2 separate regions of the Homo sapiens genome follow, and region 2 is linked to region 1. The links are contacts of gene promoters, found by promoter capture Hi-C in human tissues and cell types (Jung and others, 2019). All regions are on one chromosome and are shown on one strand. Each heading gives the region's core, a stretch centred on a gene start or on the middle of the fragment in contact. The rest is flanking DNA. Distances are from core to core; before and after follow the strand shown. Region 1 holds the start of NPEPL1 (aminopeptidase like 1). Region 2 overlaps RAB22A (RAB22A, member RAS oncogene family).

Region 1 (7,477 bases), core at 3,252-5,751:
CGAGCTCGGGGCTCTGACGCAAGAGCGCTCCTGTGGGAGGGAGGGCAGGGCTGCGGGTGCCCTCCACCAACACACAGCCATGCTGCACTGGGGAAGGGTGTCCCTTACCATGAGAGGAGGACCACTCATTCTGTCCACATGTGCCAGGCATCGTGCAAGACTCTGAGAATTCAGAGACGTCCAAGGGAGTCAAGCTCAGCAGAGACTCACAGTACACAGTCCCAGTCCCTGCTACAGAAGAGGATGAGGCCACAGGATGCAGAGGGGACAGGGTCCTGGGTGGGGACTGGAAGGTTCCCGCAGGGAAGAAAAGGGAGAAGCTGAGTACAGGCCACGTGGGTGTCAGATGATGGTGTGCTCAGGACCCAAGAGGGCTGAGTGGTGGCAGCTGCAGCTTAACACCTGGCTCTGCCCCTTGCTGCCGTGGCCCCGGTGAGCCACTCAATGTCGTGGGGACAACAGGATGTATCTCACAGGGCTGTAGTGAGAATTCAGTGCACCAGCACGTGCTGTGTGCACACTCCTGCCTCAGCGCAGGGCCTGACAGCTGACAGCACTCAGAAGATGCCACCTTGCACACACCCAGATGTGCCTTTGGAAGGCGAGTGACGCAGGAGCTGGAAGGAGGCCATCTGTGGCAGGGTGACCAGGAGACTGCTGCCACAGCCCAGGAGAGCACCTCAAGGCACGGCACTGGGCAGAGCAAAGACAAGAAACAGGACACACTAGCTAGTTGGGACCAATGGGGTCGGGGGCCATGGGGACTGACTGCCCCCACTGGTTCCATCACCAGATGTTTACTGGGCCTTTTTCATGTGTGGGGTCGGGTGCTGGGATCACTGTGCACAAGACCAGGTCCCTGCCCTCTGGGGACTCCCAACCCAGTGAGGAGCACAGGAGATCAACAAAGATGTGACATGTCTAGTAGTGATGGTTTAGCTGACAAATGGGAGGGTGGTGCTAGCCAAGAGGGCCAGGCCTCCCTGGGGAGGGAATGTGGGCAGAGGCTGGATGGAGACCATGCTGGGCTGGAGAGGGAAGGACCCCTGCAGAGGAGCAAGAGCAGGAGTGGGCGTGGCCAGTCTAAGGGACAGCAGGAAGTCCACAGGAGGGGAAGGGACTGAGGGCAGCAGAGGTCAGGGTGCCCTGCTGTCCTCGGAAATAAGGGTGATGCTTGAGCCCCCGGTGGGCTCTGCGGGCACCCGTGCCCACCTGGATGGCAGGCCTGGAAGTCAGAAGAAAATCCCTAAAGACAGAGAGAAGAGGCAGATGCTGGTGTCTGACCCGGAGAGGGCTGAGCAGGTCGGAACGCTGGAGAGGCCATGAAGGGGATGCCGAGAGGTGGCAGCAGTCTGGGGAGCAGCGGGAGGGAGGGAGACCTCTGGATGGGGCAGATGCACTTCAAGGAGGGACGGCAACACCCCATCCAGCAGTCCTTAGAAAACAATGTCAGGATGGGGGCAAAAACTCTGTCTCCATGGGTTAAGAGGGAAAAGAGGATTAAGCAAGGCAAACCAGTTAGACTTTTTTAAAAGCTCAGAGACGAAGGGAAAAAAGGGGAGCTATCTCATGCTGGTGAAGATGGAAGAATTTGGGTTGAGGGGCAGTGGTTACAGGCCTCAGAGAGCACACAGTGAAAGAAATGAGGTGTGGCCCAAGTGCTGATGTGGGAGAGCTTGCCTGGGTGAAGGCGACAGCCTTCCAGAGCCAGAAGTGAAGAATGAGCGCTGACACATGAGAAAAGACAACCTGGGTGGCGCTGTGGGCTCGGGGACTGGAGGTGGCAGGCGCAGAGGCTGGGACCGCTGCCGTGGGGACAGGAGCCTGATGTCAGGCCCATCCAAGGATCTGGAGCTGGGAAATCACTTCCGGCCTTGCAGCCTCAAAAGGATCATTCTCAGCATTGAGTGAAATAACACATGTAGAAGTGCTCCCTGTAAAGGGTGCAGCAACACACATGCACACACACCACACACACACCACTCATGCACACACTAGCACTCATACACACACAGCAACACACACAACACACACACACACCACTCATGCACACACCAGCACTCATACACACAGCAACACATGCTGCTCATGCACACACCAGTACTCACACACAACAACACACACCACACATGCACACACCACACATGCACACCACACACACACACCACTCATGCACACACCAGCAAACACACACACACAGCAACACATACCACACGTACACCACACACACCACTCATGCACACACCAGCAAACATACACAGCAACACATACCACACACACACACACATCACACATGCACACACACACCCCCCACACATACAACACATGCACATACACTCATACACGCACAGCAACACACATGTGCACGCACATACACACACACGTGCATACATCACACACGTGCACACGGAGCTCACATAAACGGGCAGGGTTATTTGGAAAACAGCATGGACGTTCCTGGCACTGATTACGTGCTCAACAAACACTGCCTGTATACAACAGAATCCTGAAGTCACAGACCACGCTGAGGCAGAGGCAGGGGGCCTGGGTTTGGAAAAGCCTCTGCCGCTTCCCAGGAACCAAAGCTCCTGGGAAGGGCAGGAACCCCCTCCTGCCCCCGCAACAAGCTTTTCCCTCTCCCGACCTCCCTCCCACCTGCCCGATCTTGCCCGGGCCCAGGGGCAGTGTCTGCCCTTCCAGACACCCACCTGCAATGTGGACACCTCCACCGGCCCGTTGTCTTGTCCCACCAGGAAAAACTCCACGGTGACCGTCTTCTTCTCCAAGCGCCGAGAGGCACCTGAGCGGTGGGTGAACAGCGGGAAGGCCCGGGCCAGGGCACAGGCGGAAGCAAAGACCTCCGGCTGCTCGCAGACCATCTGTGGCACATAGGGAGACGGCGTGAGGGGTGCAAGGGCCGCCACCAGGGAGTGCAGGGAGCTGCTCTTTGAACGCCTCCGGAACATCAGCTCCCTGGCAGGTGACATCTAGACAGAGATGTCCCACAGCAGCCGCCACCCCATCCCTCAGGTCATCCCCGGAACCATGGGACCACCATTGGTCATGCTCCAAGAGAAATAACACATTGGCCACCAGATGTCAACAGCCTGACCAGCCATGAAAATGAGGGACAGAGGGACAGACACAAAGTGGGCCTCAGGAAATCTAGGTTTGAGTCTCTGATTTGCCACCAAAACTGATCTGGGGCAAATCCCCGCGTCTCTCTGGACCTGTTTCCCTGTCTACAGAGCAGGGATGATAACGTCCACAGCCCTCTGGGCGTGCGCTGCAGTCTGAGCAGGGCTGTGAGCTCCCCAGGCCCGAGCTCACCGCTGCCCGACTAGGAGCACCGTGGCTGCCTCCTCTCGAAGCACTCACCACAATGCAGCGATGCGCTCCGGGCGGCAGGCAGGTCCGCACCAGCCGCGTGATGAAGTGGGCGGCCGAGGGGCTGTTGTGCCGGCTCACCCTGCAGGGCAGGGCAGCCACGGTGGCGTAGTTCAGGTAGAGGGGACAGCTGTCCGTGGGGTTGGGGTTGAGCGTGCTCAGGGCAGCCTGCCAGAGCTAGATCAGAAGGGAGAGACAAGACACAGAGGCTTCAAACAGCGGCCACGTGCCAGGAGGCCCTGCCCTGCAGCCACGGCCACAACCACTCCTGCAGTCCTGGAAGGGCACTGCGCAGCTCCCGGCCACCGTTTTCCCATCCTTAGGGAGATGTGTCGCCTCTCTGCAGAGCTAACTGTCTCTAGGCTGGCTCGCATCCCCCTGGTGGGATGAAGCCACCAAGCCTGGAAGGGCCAGGCTGGGGGCTGCTTTGCTTCCAACACTCGGATAGGGCTTAGGCGGCTTCCACCAGAGAGGGGGCAGGGGCCAGGTGTCCCCAAGGAAAGGCAGCTGGGGACACTGCCATGGGAACTTCTGGAAGCCAGGGCCTGTCGCCAGGCGGGGCCGACGCGCGGCCCTGGGAGCGGCCACGTCTCCCCCCCCGCCGTCCGCAGGTGTCGCGGCCTCGCGGGGCGCAGGGCTGGGCTGACAGGAGGACCACCGCGCCGCACCGGCGACGGGGCCTGGGGCTGGGCCTCCGCGGGCGAGGACTGGCCTGGCGGCTGAGCCCTTCAGGGAGGCGGCCCGGCCTCGTTGGGCCCGGCCCGGCGGCGGCGGGGGTGCGGCGGGCGAGGCGGGGCCTCCGCGGGCCGCCCGGGCCTGGGCTTCCGCGGCGCGGGTCGCATGGCGGCCGGCGGCCCGCTCACCTCCTCGGTGACCCGGGGCTGCAGCTTCCCGCGGACGTGGCTCCAGGGCACGCGGTGCAGGTGGTGCAGCTGCCCGAGCAGCAGCAGGGGCCGGCTCTGTGGGTCCGAGTCCCCCGCGCTCGCCTGGAACTGCAGCCCCACGTTCGCCATCTTCCTGCCGGCCCACGCCCCGGCCCTGCCCGGCCCGGCCCGGCCCGCCGCTCGGCCCCCTTCGCCCCGCTCCGGCCCGGCCTCGGCACCGCCCCGGCCCTGCCCGGCAGCCCGCGGGCCCCGCCTCCCCCGCCGCTCCGGGCTGCTCGCGAGACGTGCAGGGCCCGCCCGGGGCGCGAGGGGGCGCCGGCCAGGCCGGGCGGAAGGGTGCGGGCAGGCCCGGCCGGGCAGGCCCGAAGCCGGCCCCGAGCAGGCCCTGCCGAGTAGGGCCCGCGCGCCCGGCCTCCAGCGGCGCCGCCCCTGGGCCTAGCGGCCCTGCCCAACACGCGGGGCGACGTGGCCCGCCAGGCAGCGCCTCCCGGACGGGCCTGGCCTCCAGTGGGGCCTGGGCCGACGTAGGCCCAAGCCCACCCGACGCAGTTCCGCCCGGTCAGGCCTCAGGCTGGCCCCAAGCAGGTCCCCCGAGGTCCCTTAGCAGCTGCTTTTGATCCCCAGGGACCCCGCACCCTGGCCACCCATCAGTTAGGCCGGAGGGGCCCAGTGACTCTTGGACCTGAGTCAGGTCCTTTTGTCCCACTGCCTGGCATGGTGGGTACAGCGTGGACGGTCACTTCCTCCTCACTTAATCGGAGGTTCCCTGGCGTTTATCAGACCCCGCTCTGCCAGGCACTGCCCTGGATGTGAGAGGGTGACAGGGACGTGGCTTTCCATCCAGGGCACTGCTGCTGGGATGGCCAGTTACAAATCCAGGCACTGCCTGGCTGCATGGGGGGCCTTCCCGCCCACCCCTTTGCAAGAAGGGTCATCTGGCACAGTCTAAGCAGGAAAGGAGGGACGAGATGAGACGAGGAAGGAGCAGGGTGACCTGAGTCACCTCAGTCGCCTTACAGGGGAGGAAAGGCCATCGGGGGTGTGGGGCAGGAGCCGGGTGGTGGAGGAGCCAGGGGTGAGCCTTGAGTGGATGGTGGAGGCGGAGGGTCCCACCCACAGGGTCAGATGCAAGGGTCAGGGAATGACGATGCATTGGGGAAGCTCCACCCAGGAGTCATTTAAAAGCAAAAATCTGTTACCCAACATCCTGATTGCTCAAGGGCCTTTGGTTGGTACCCTCCTCTGTTACCTCCATGTAGTTCCATAAGCCACTCCTGTTATTTTGAGTTTCTTCTTCATAACCAGCCTAAAAATGAAAAAAAAAAAAAAAAAAAAAGAAAAGAAAAAAAGAAAAAAAAGCACTGTCAACTCCCTGGCGTGGTGTGAGAGGTTTTCCACCACTGACCTCCCAGCTGGCCCCCTAGCTCCCTAACTTGTAGCCCCGGGAGCCACAAGCCAGGCTTTCACCTTCCCTGTCCACAGGCTCCAGGTCTGTCTGCTCAGCTCTGAGCCATGGTCCCTGGCCCCTTGGAAACACCACAGACTAGAGCTTCAGCATCCTGAAGGCAGGTCTTTTTGACTTTTTGTTGTTTTTTTTTCCTCCAGTTCCTGGCACAGAGCAGGCACTCAAAAAAAAAAAAAAAAAAAAAAAAAAAAAAAAAAAAAGCTGTTGAATGACTGAAAGGCATTCCTTTGAAACCCTCAGCTTTCCCGACATAAAAGTCAACGCTAATTGGATCTTATTTTCTTCAAAAGATTTTACAGCAGCTGAATGTTTTCACACATTGGTAAAGGGTACTAACAGTGTGTATGAAGATCTCTCACTCTTTTTTCTGTTTGCAAATACGTTGCAGACAGGCACACGGCACTCCAGAGGACTGAGACAGCTGGAGGATCTTCCTAGAGGGTGAGAGACTAAGGCCATGCCCTGACAGATGTAATAGGACTTCCACAGGCGAAGAGATTGAGAAAGAAGGCCTTCCACGTGGGAGAAGTCCTGGGAGGAAACACAGACGCAGAATATGTCCAGCAGGCTCTGAAACCTGTGTGGTTAGAACAGAAGGTTCCTGGAAAATAGGAGTGGGTGAGGAGATCGACTGGGGAGCCTGGCTCACTCTATAGAATTTTGCAAACTGAAGAGGGATCCAAGAAGCATTTCAGAAAGCCAGATCTAGCAGGTTTGTGTACAAGGAGTTGGAAATGAGATAAACTGTTGGTGGAGAGGTCATTTTGGAGATGTTTTTCTTTTAGAATTCTTTCATATTTAAGAATAGACTGAATAACCCTGACAGTCCCCAGAAAGGATGAACAAAATGATTCAATTCAACCAACATTTGTTGAGCACTTAGTGTACACAAAGCAAGAGAAAACGTTAGATGCTTGTTAAAAGCAAATATTGGTGATTCTGGTTTTAAGCCACCCCCGAATTGAAGAAATCCAAACTAAACAGAACGCTAAGGAATTATTCCACTTCAAATGCCTGCCAATTTCCTCAAGATTCAGCTTGTGACAGATACAAATACATTCCAGGAAAGTACTTTCCCTTTTTCACTGCTGACTTTACAGACTTTAACATAAATAAGACAGGCAGCACTTTGTTTAGATAAATTTTTATGAAGGTATTAATCCATGGCTTACTATATATTTCACTGTCAATGAAAAATTCAACTCTATTTAATTTTCCTTAAAAAATGAAAGTTTAAAACAAATTACCAGATCTTTAATGCAACCCAAAAATCAACTTATGTTTTTGATGGCTTGAAACCTATTCCACATTCAATTGGATGTTCAGACTTTGCTCCAAAGTTGAAGAAAAGATTAAAAACTTCTGGGACAAATCAGAATAAAGCTCCTAGAACTTACTAGGATGTTTTTTGGTACAGTTCACATTCTAGGACACATTTCTGAAATCCTATCTTGTAAGATGGCTCTAGGTGTTTGAAATCTACATTTATATGTTAATTTCATGTCAGACTTCACCCCTATAAAACCTAATGCCTGCTTAGACTCAGCTGATTGCCACGAGGCTCTCAGATTCCATTATATCCGATACTTCAAAGAAACATTTCCTCGGTGCATCTGCTTCGTATTTTCTAGCATTTTCATTCATTCATTCATTTGACATACATTTGTTGAACATCAGTTCTGAAAAGCTACAGGACCCGTGAGGCTTTGGGGACGCAATAGCGTGTGTGTGTGTGTGTGTG
Region 2 (7,477 bases), core at 2,652-5,151, 370 kb after region 1:
GGGCCTTCCAAAGTGCTGGGATTACAGGTGTGAGCCACTGCGCCTAGCCTAAAGTTTTTTTTTTTTTTTTGAGATGGAGTCTCGCTCTGTCACCAGGCTGGAGTGCAGTGGTGTAATCTCGGCTCACTGCAACCTCCGACTCCCAGGTTTAAGCGATTCTCCTGCCTCAGCCTCCTGAGTAGCTGGGACTACAGGCGCACGCACCACCACACCCAGCTAATTTTTGTATTTTTAGTAGAGACGGGGTTTCACCATGTTGGCCAGGATGGTCTTGATCTCCTGACCCTCGTGATCTGCCCGCCTTGGCCTCCCAAAGTGCTGGGATTACAGGTGTGAGCCACCGGGCCTGGCGTACAGTTTTTTTTTTTTTTTTTTTTTTTGAGACGGAGTCTCGCTCTGTCACCAGGCTGGAGAGCAGTGGTGCGATCTCGGCTCACTGCAACCTCCGACTCCCCGGTTCAAGCGATTCTCCTGCCTCAGCCTCCTGAGTAGCTGGGACTACAGGCATGTGCCCCCATGCCCAGCTAATTTTTGTATTTTTAGTAGACACGGGGTTTCACAATGTTGGCCAGGATGGTCTTGATCTCTTGACCTCATGATCTGCCCGCCTCGGCCTCCCAAAGTGCTGGGATTACAGGCGTGAGCCACTGTGCCTGGCCTAAAGTTTTAAGATACAAGGAATACAACCGAGGAGGACTGAAAATCAGTGACAACTGTCTATCTCAAGAAGTTAGAAAAGGAACAGCATATTGAATAAGGACAAAAATAATAAAGATGGGAGTAGAAATTAGTGAAACAGGGAAGAGACATATCATAGAGTTGATCAAAGGCAAAACTAATATCAGAAATGAAAACGGGGTCTCCGTATAGAATCTTAACATCTTTATGTCAATAAATTGGAAAACGTATATGAAAGAGTCAAAATCCTTAAAAAAAAAAACCCCAATGTATTAAAACCAATACAAGAGAAATAGAAAATCTGAGTATCAACAACCTTACAACTGTGAAAGAAACTGACTCTCTAATCAGACTATCATACAAGAAGAACTTGAAGCCCAGATGGCAACACTGATGAATTTTACTCATCACTTAAGGAAGGAATAAGAGCAATTTTATACAGTCTCTTCCACAGAAGTTTCTCAACCAGTTTTATCAGGCAAGCACAGCACTGATGCCAAATCTGACATGCACATTATAAAAAAGTATTTATATGATAGTCTCCATTTATAAACATACATAAAAATTCTAAAAAATAATAACTAATTAAAGCCAGTGATATGTATTTAATAAAAATAACATGTCCTGACCTAAGTGTATTTATTCCATGAAAATTTAATGATATAATTTACCACATTAACATAAAAGAGTATAATTATGTGATTAGCCAAATACATGTAGAAAAATATTTTGATAAAGTCAACATTATGTTAAAAAAAAAATCAAAGATCCCAGCAAACAAAATAAAGGTGCTTCTGCTGGGCATGGTGGTGTCAATCTACAGTACTCCCAGCTACTCTGGAGGTTGAGGCAGGAGGATCACTTGAGCCCAGGTGTTCAAATCTATCCCGAACAACATAGTGACACCATGTCTCTTAAAAGAAAAAAAAAAAGAAAAAAAAAGAAAAAAAAAAGGGCACGTTTGTAATGTGATAGGAATATGTACAAAAAACCTATAGCAAACATAATGGTATGATGGTAGAAGCTACCCCCTAAGATTAGGATAATACCTAGTATTACCATTTCTATTGAACATTGAACTAGAGATCCTACCTGATCTCATAGAATAAGTAAAATGTTTAAGAATTAGAATAAAGATTAAAAAAACTAATTCCCAGGTGATATAAAAGTATACAGAGAACACAAAAAAATAATGTATAGAGATAAGCTCTATAAATTAGTGAATAAATTCAGCAAGGTTACTGGATATAACTTCAATTTTTAAAAGTCGTATTTCTGTATATAATCAACAAATAAAAAGAAAATGAAAATTTCAAAACAATGCCATTTACCATATTAACAGCATAAAACTGCACTAAACATATCAAACCCCTTGGAAAGATGTCCAAGTCCATAACACAGAGAAGTAGAAAAAAAACACTGAGAGAAACTCAAGAATCCTAATATATATGAAAGAGTAATCTATGTTCATATATTAGAAGATTCAGTATTATAAAGATACCATTTCTCTCCAGATCAATTTATATATTCAACACAAGGCCAATCAAAAACACAGTAGGGATTAGCGTGTTGGTGTGAGTGAAAAAGGACAAGATGATTTTAATGTTTATATTGAAACAGGTCAAGAACAGCCAAGACATTGCTGAAGAACAACACAGAAAATTCACACCACTGGACAGTAAGACTTAGTATGAAAAAAAATTAGAAATCGTGACAATGGCACAAGGATAGAAAAAAAGACTAATGGTCTCTTTGAAAGGTCATTTAATGCAAAAAAAATAAGTGTGTTGTGATTTCATAACATGTAGAAGTAAAATATGACCACAGCAGCACAAAGCCTGGGAGAAGGGAAACAGAAGGACGCTCTTGCGAGGTTCTTATATGTGAAACTGTTATTATTTGAACACAGACTGATATATCAAAGAAGGATATTATAAATTCTAGCAAATCATTAAAATAATAAAAACAAAGAGGTAAACAAGATAATAGTGGAAATACAATGGAATCATTAACATGGGGCCAAGAGAAAAATAAAGCAAGATGGTAGTTTTAAACCAAATAATATTGACAGTCATAATAAATAAAAATGATGTAAATCAGTGCTATACAACAGAAATTTGTTATGAGGATTGAAATGTAGCTAATATGACTGAAGATTTGAATTTTTAATTTTAACATGTGGCTAGTAGCAACTGTACTAGACCGTGGAGGTCTAAATAATTAAAAGGCAGAGACTGTCAGATTAGATATAAAAGCAGAGCCTATAATTCTATCTACAAGAAAGGCACTTGAAAAATACAGCTATAAATAGGTTAAATGTAAATGCATGGGAAGAGATAATCAAATAGAATGCCAAAGAGCTTAAATTAATATCAGACCAAGTAGAATTCAGAACGGCACTCTTACCAGGGACAAAAGAGAGACATTTCATGACGTTTGTAAAAGGGTCATCAAGAAAATCTAACAATGACGCCCGGTGAGGTGGCTCATGCCTGTCATCCCAGCCCTTTGTGAAGCCACAGCAGGAGGATGGCTTGAGCCCAGGGGTTTGAGACCAGCCTGGGCAGCAAAGTGACCCCAGCTCTACAAAAAATGAAAAAAATTAGCCAGATGTGGTGAGTACACCTGTGGTCCTATTATTCAGGAGGCTGAGGTAGGAGGATCACTTGAGTCTGGGAAGTTGAGGCTGCAGTGAGCTGTGACTGCACCACTGCACTCTAGCCTGACAGATGGAGCAAGACCTTGTTTCTGTTTATGTATATATAACACAGATACATTTAAGAGATATATAATTCATACATATAATATATATAATACATGACATGTATGTTATATAAAAATATATAAAAACAATGCTACATGCATATACACTCAATAACGAAAGCTTCGAAACATGAAGCAAAACCTGATTAAAAACAGAAATAGACAAATCTTTAATTAGAGCTGCTTCAAATACTCTTTTACTGCAAAATAAGAGAAAAAAGTTAGTAAAAACACTGGAGATAGGAGCAGTGCTATTAAATGAGCTAATTAACGTTTACAGAATACTCCACACATCAGTAGCGGAATGCACATTCTTTACTAGTGCACATGGAACATTCACAAAGACAGACCACATCTTAGGCTAGGAAACAAATGTCAGATATAAAAGGTTTGAAATAATACTGAGTATGTTCTCTGACCACAATAGACTTTTTTTTTTTGACACGGAGTTCTCACTCTGTCATTCAGGCAGGAGTGCAGTGGTGCCATCTCGGCTCACTACAACCTCTACCTCCTGGGTTCAAGCAATTCTCCTGCCTCAGCCTCCCCAGTAGCTGAGATTACAGGTGCCTACCACCATGCCCAGCTAATTTTTGTATTTTTTTTTTTTTTTTTGAGATGGAGTCTTGCTCTGTCACCAGGCTGGAGGGCAGTGGCGCAGTCTCGGGCTCACTGCAACCTCCGCCTCCAGGGTTCAAGCGATTCTCTTGCCTCGGCCTCCTGAATAGCTGGGATTACAGGCGTGTGCCACCACGCCCAGCTAATTTTTGTATTTTTAGTAGACACGGGGTTTTACCATGTTGGCCAGGATGGTCTCGATCTGTTGACCCCATGATCTACCCGCCTCGGCCTCCCAAAGTGCTGGGATTACAGGCGTGAGCCACTGAGCCCAGCCAATTTTTGTATTTTTTAGCAGAGACAGGGTTTCACCATGTTGGCCAGGCTGGTCTTGAACTCCTGACTTCAAGTGATCCACCCGCTTTGGCCTCCCAAAGTGCTAGGATTATAGGTGCGAACCACCGCACCTGTACCCGCAATAGATTTAAGCTAGAAATCGATACTTGAAAAATTTCTGGAAAATACCCAAAGAATTGGGAATTAGAAAATATATTTCTAAGACACCAATGCTCAAAGAAGTCACAAGAGAAATGACAGGGGCAACTAAATGAAAATGAAAACACAACATATCAAAATCCATGAAATTCACCTAAACCATCACTTAAAGGGAAATTTACAGTTCTAAATGCTCAGATAACAAAAACTGGTTCTTTGAGAAGACGAATAAAATTGATAAACTTATAGCTGGACAGTTCAGAAAAAGAAGTGAGAAGGCTCAAATCAGCACTATCAAAAATGGAAGGGGGGTATTGCTACAGATCCCAAAACATTAAAAGGATAAGAAGTGGATATTATAAACAACTTTATGCCAATAAATTAAAAAAAACAGAGATACGATGAACAAATTCCTTGAAGGACACAACTACCAACTTACTCAAGAAGAAATAGTTGCCTGAATAAGCCTTTACAGTATTTACTAAAGGAATTGAATCTGCAGTTACATATTTTCAGACAAAGAAAACTCCCTGCTCAGATGGTTTCATCTGTGAATTCTACCAAAACTTTAAGGAAGACGTAATACCAATTCTACACAAACTCTTCCAAAAAAGTAGAAGAGAAGACATTCCTCAACTCATTTGATGAGGTCCTGACACCAGAACTAGAGAAAGACTATTACAGAAAACTACATGGAGAGAAAAATCCTTGAAAAAATTTTAGTAAATCAAATCCAGCAATATATAAAAAATAATAATGCATAATGACCAAGAGAAATTTATCTTAGGAGTGCCAGATTGGTTTAATATTTCAGTATTAAACTCTCAATGGTTGTAATGCACCATTTTAACAGAAAGAAAAAGAATATGAACAGCTCAAAATATGTAAAATACCATCTAATAAAATTCAACACAATTCATGACAAAAAATCTCATTAATTCAGGAATAGAAGGGAACATCTTCAACCTGATAATGGCATTTATAAAAGACCTAGAGACAGCCATCAAATTGAATGGTAAAAGACTGAATGAATGGTAAAAGACCTACATTAACGGTGAATATATCATGTTCCTGGATCAAAAATGGAATAGTGTTAAGATGACAATTCTTCCCAAATTGGTCAAGAGATTCAATGTGTTCCCAATCAAGATCTCACCTGGCTCTTTTGAGGAACTGGGCACTGTGATTCTAAAATTTATATAGAAATGCAAAAGACCCAGAGGAGCCAGACATGAAAAACAAGAATAGAATTAGATGACATACACTATCTGATTCCAAGACTTTCTATACATCTACAGCAATGAACACAATATTGTACTGGCTTGAGGACAGATGAATAGACCAATGGGACAGAAAAGGAAATCCAGAAATACACCCATACACATATATAAACTCATAGGTGCCAAGGTGATTTAATTCAACAAATGCTGAATTCAACAAAAATGTTTAATTTTGATCAACTCCAGCTTCTTTTTATGCTTTGTTTTTTGGTGTGTCCTATATGTCCAATGTTGTTCTAGAACTTTTATAGCCTTATTAAATTTTGGTCTGTGATCTGTTTCTACTCGTTTACTTTGTGAGGTAAGGGTCAAGAATCTTTTTTTTTTCCATATGTCAGTCTAATCATCCTAGAAACAAATGACATGTATGTGTGTGTGTATACTAATTCCATTTATATAAAGTTCAAAACCATAGTGGGAGATTAAAAAATAACCTTTTAAAATTTAATTTTGTCATTTGCTAAGAAATAACAAATGCTTTCCATACGACATACACCATTCTAAGCAATTTTTATGTGTTTGAATTCAATTTCACAACAACCCTACAGATTAGATGCCAAGGAGGATTCCCAAATGTGCAAATGTAGGCACAAAAAAGTTAAATAACTTGTCCAATGCCACAGAGCAACTAAGTGCTAGAGCTGGGAGGTGAAGGCAGACAGCCTGGCTCTGAACACTATGGCACATTGACTCCCAATGAGAGAACTTTAATGGAAAGATGGAGGGAGGGCAAATGTGCACAAGGAGGTGGGAGGAGGAGGATGGCAAAATTCCCATCTTCCAAAGAAAAAGAATCAGTAGATACTGCCTTAAACAGGAGGCGGGGAGGAGAGAGGGATCAACAACTACCAGTACATGCTGAGTACCCCTTATCTGAAATGCTGACCAGAAGTGTTTCCGATTTTGGAAAAAAAAAAAGAAGGGTTTCTGATTTAGGAATTTTTCAGAATTTGGAATATTTGCATTATATCAGTTCAGCATTTCAAATCCAAAAATCCAAAATACTCCAATGGGCATTTCCTGTGAGTGTCATACTGTTGCTCAAAAAGTTTTAGATTTTGGAGCATTTTGTATTTGGGATACTCAACCTGTGCATGCATGTTACGAAAAAATTTGGAGAAAAAATTAGAAAGAATAGCTAAATGTGAAGGCAACAGTAAGCCTCCAGGGAATGGCTCAGAGTAGGGCACTGTTATACAACACTTAGCCTCGTAACACTATTTCAGGTTTTAAAAACCATATACACATTGCTTTGATACAAATAATTTTAAAATTTTAAAAAGATTTAAACATTTACAAAAGAATAGGCAAAATGCTGTGGCTCATGCCTAATCCTAGCACTTTGGGAGGCCAAGGCAGGAGGATCACTTGAGGTGAAGAGTTCGAGACCAGCCTGGGCAATGCAGTGAGACCTCATCTCTACAAGAAATAAAAAGAATTAGCAAGGCATGGTGATGCGTACTGCTCGTGCTATTGTTGTCCTAGCTACTCAGGAGGCTGAGCCAAGAAGATCGCTTGAGCTTAGGAGTTTGATGCTGCACTGAGCTCAAAGTGTCCCTCAGCCTGGGTGACAGAACAAGACCCTGTCTCTAAAAAATAGAAATAAAAAATTAAAAAAGAATAATAGGCCAGGCGTGGTGGTTCACGCCTGTAATCCCAGCACTTTGGGAGGCCAAGGCAGGCGGATCACGAGGTCAGGAGAT

What was found. The method cuts DNA at HindIII sites, captures the fragments that hold promoters and counts their contacts. A contact is called where the count stands out against the background at its distance.
Region 2: a fragment that was not itself captured here is called in contact with the fragment with the promoter of NPEPL1 in region 1 in 1 of the 25 tissues and cell types used here (dorsolateral prefrontal cortex).

Annotation. Positions count from the first base shown.
Region 1 is chr20:58,689,824-58,697,300 of GRCh38, reverse strand. NPEPL1 (aminopeptidase like 1) reads right to left here and starts at 4,501. Exons shown (of 12, transcript NM_024663.4): 1 at 4,251-4,501; 2 at 3,379-3,564; 3 at 2,709-2,879. The coding sequence starts at 4,400. STX16-NPEPL1 (STX16-NPEPL1 readthrough (NMD candidate)) reads right to left here. Exons shown (of 23, transcript NR_037945.1): 9 at 6,074-6,267; 10 at 5,739-5,896; 11 at 5,521-5,577; 12 at 3,379-3,564; 13 at 2,709-2,879. RefSeq lists enhancers at 2,315-2,922, 4,363-5,068 and silencers at 3,986-4,075, 4,096-4,175, 4,206-4,365, 4,376-4,865. The HindIII fragment of the contact is 15,721 bases long and covers 1,115-7,477 here.
Region 2 is chr20:58,317,769-58,325,245 of GRCh38, reverse strand. The region is part of intron 2 of RAB22A (RAB22A, member RAS oncogene family); the gene reads right to left. Among named protein-coding and RNA genes, the nearest start is that of RAB22A, 12 kb to the right of the region's middle. The HindIII fragment of the contact is 9,624 bases long and covers 1-7,477 here.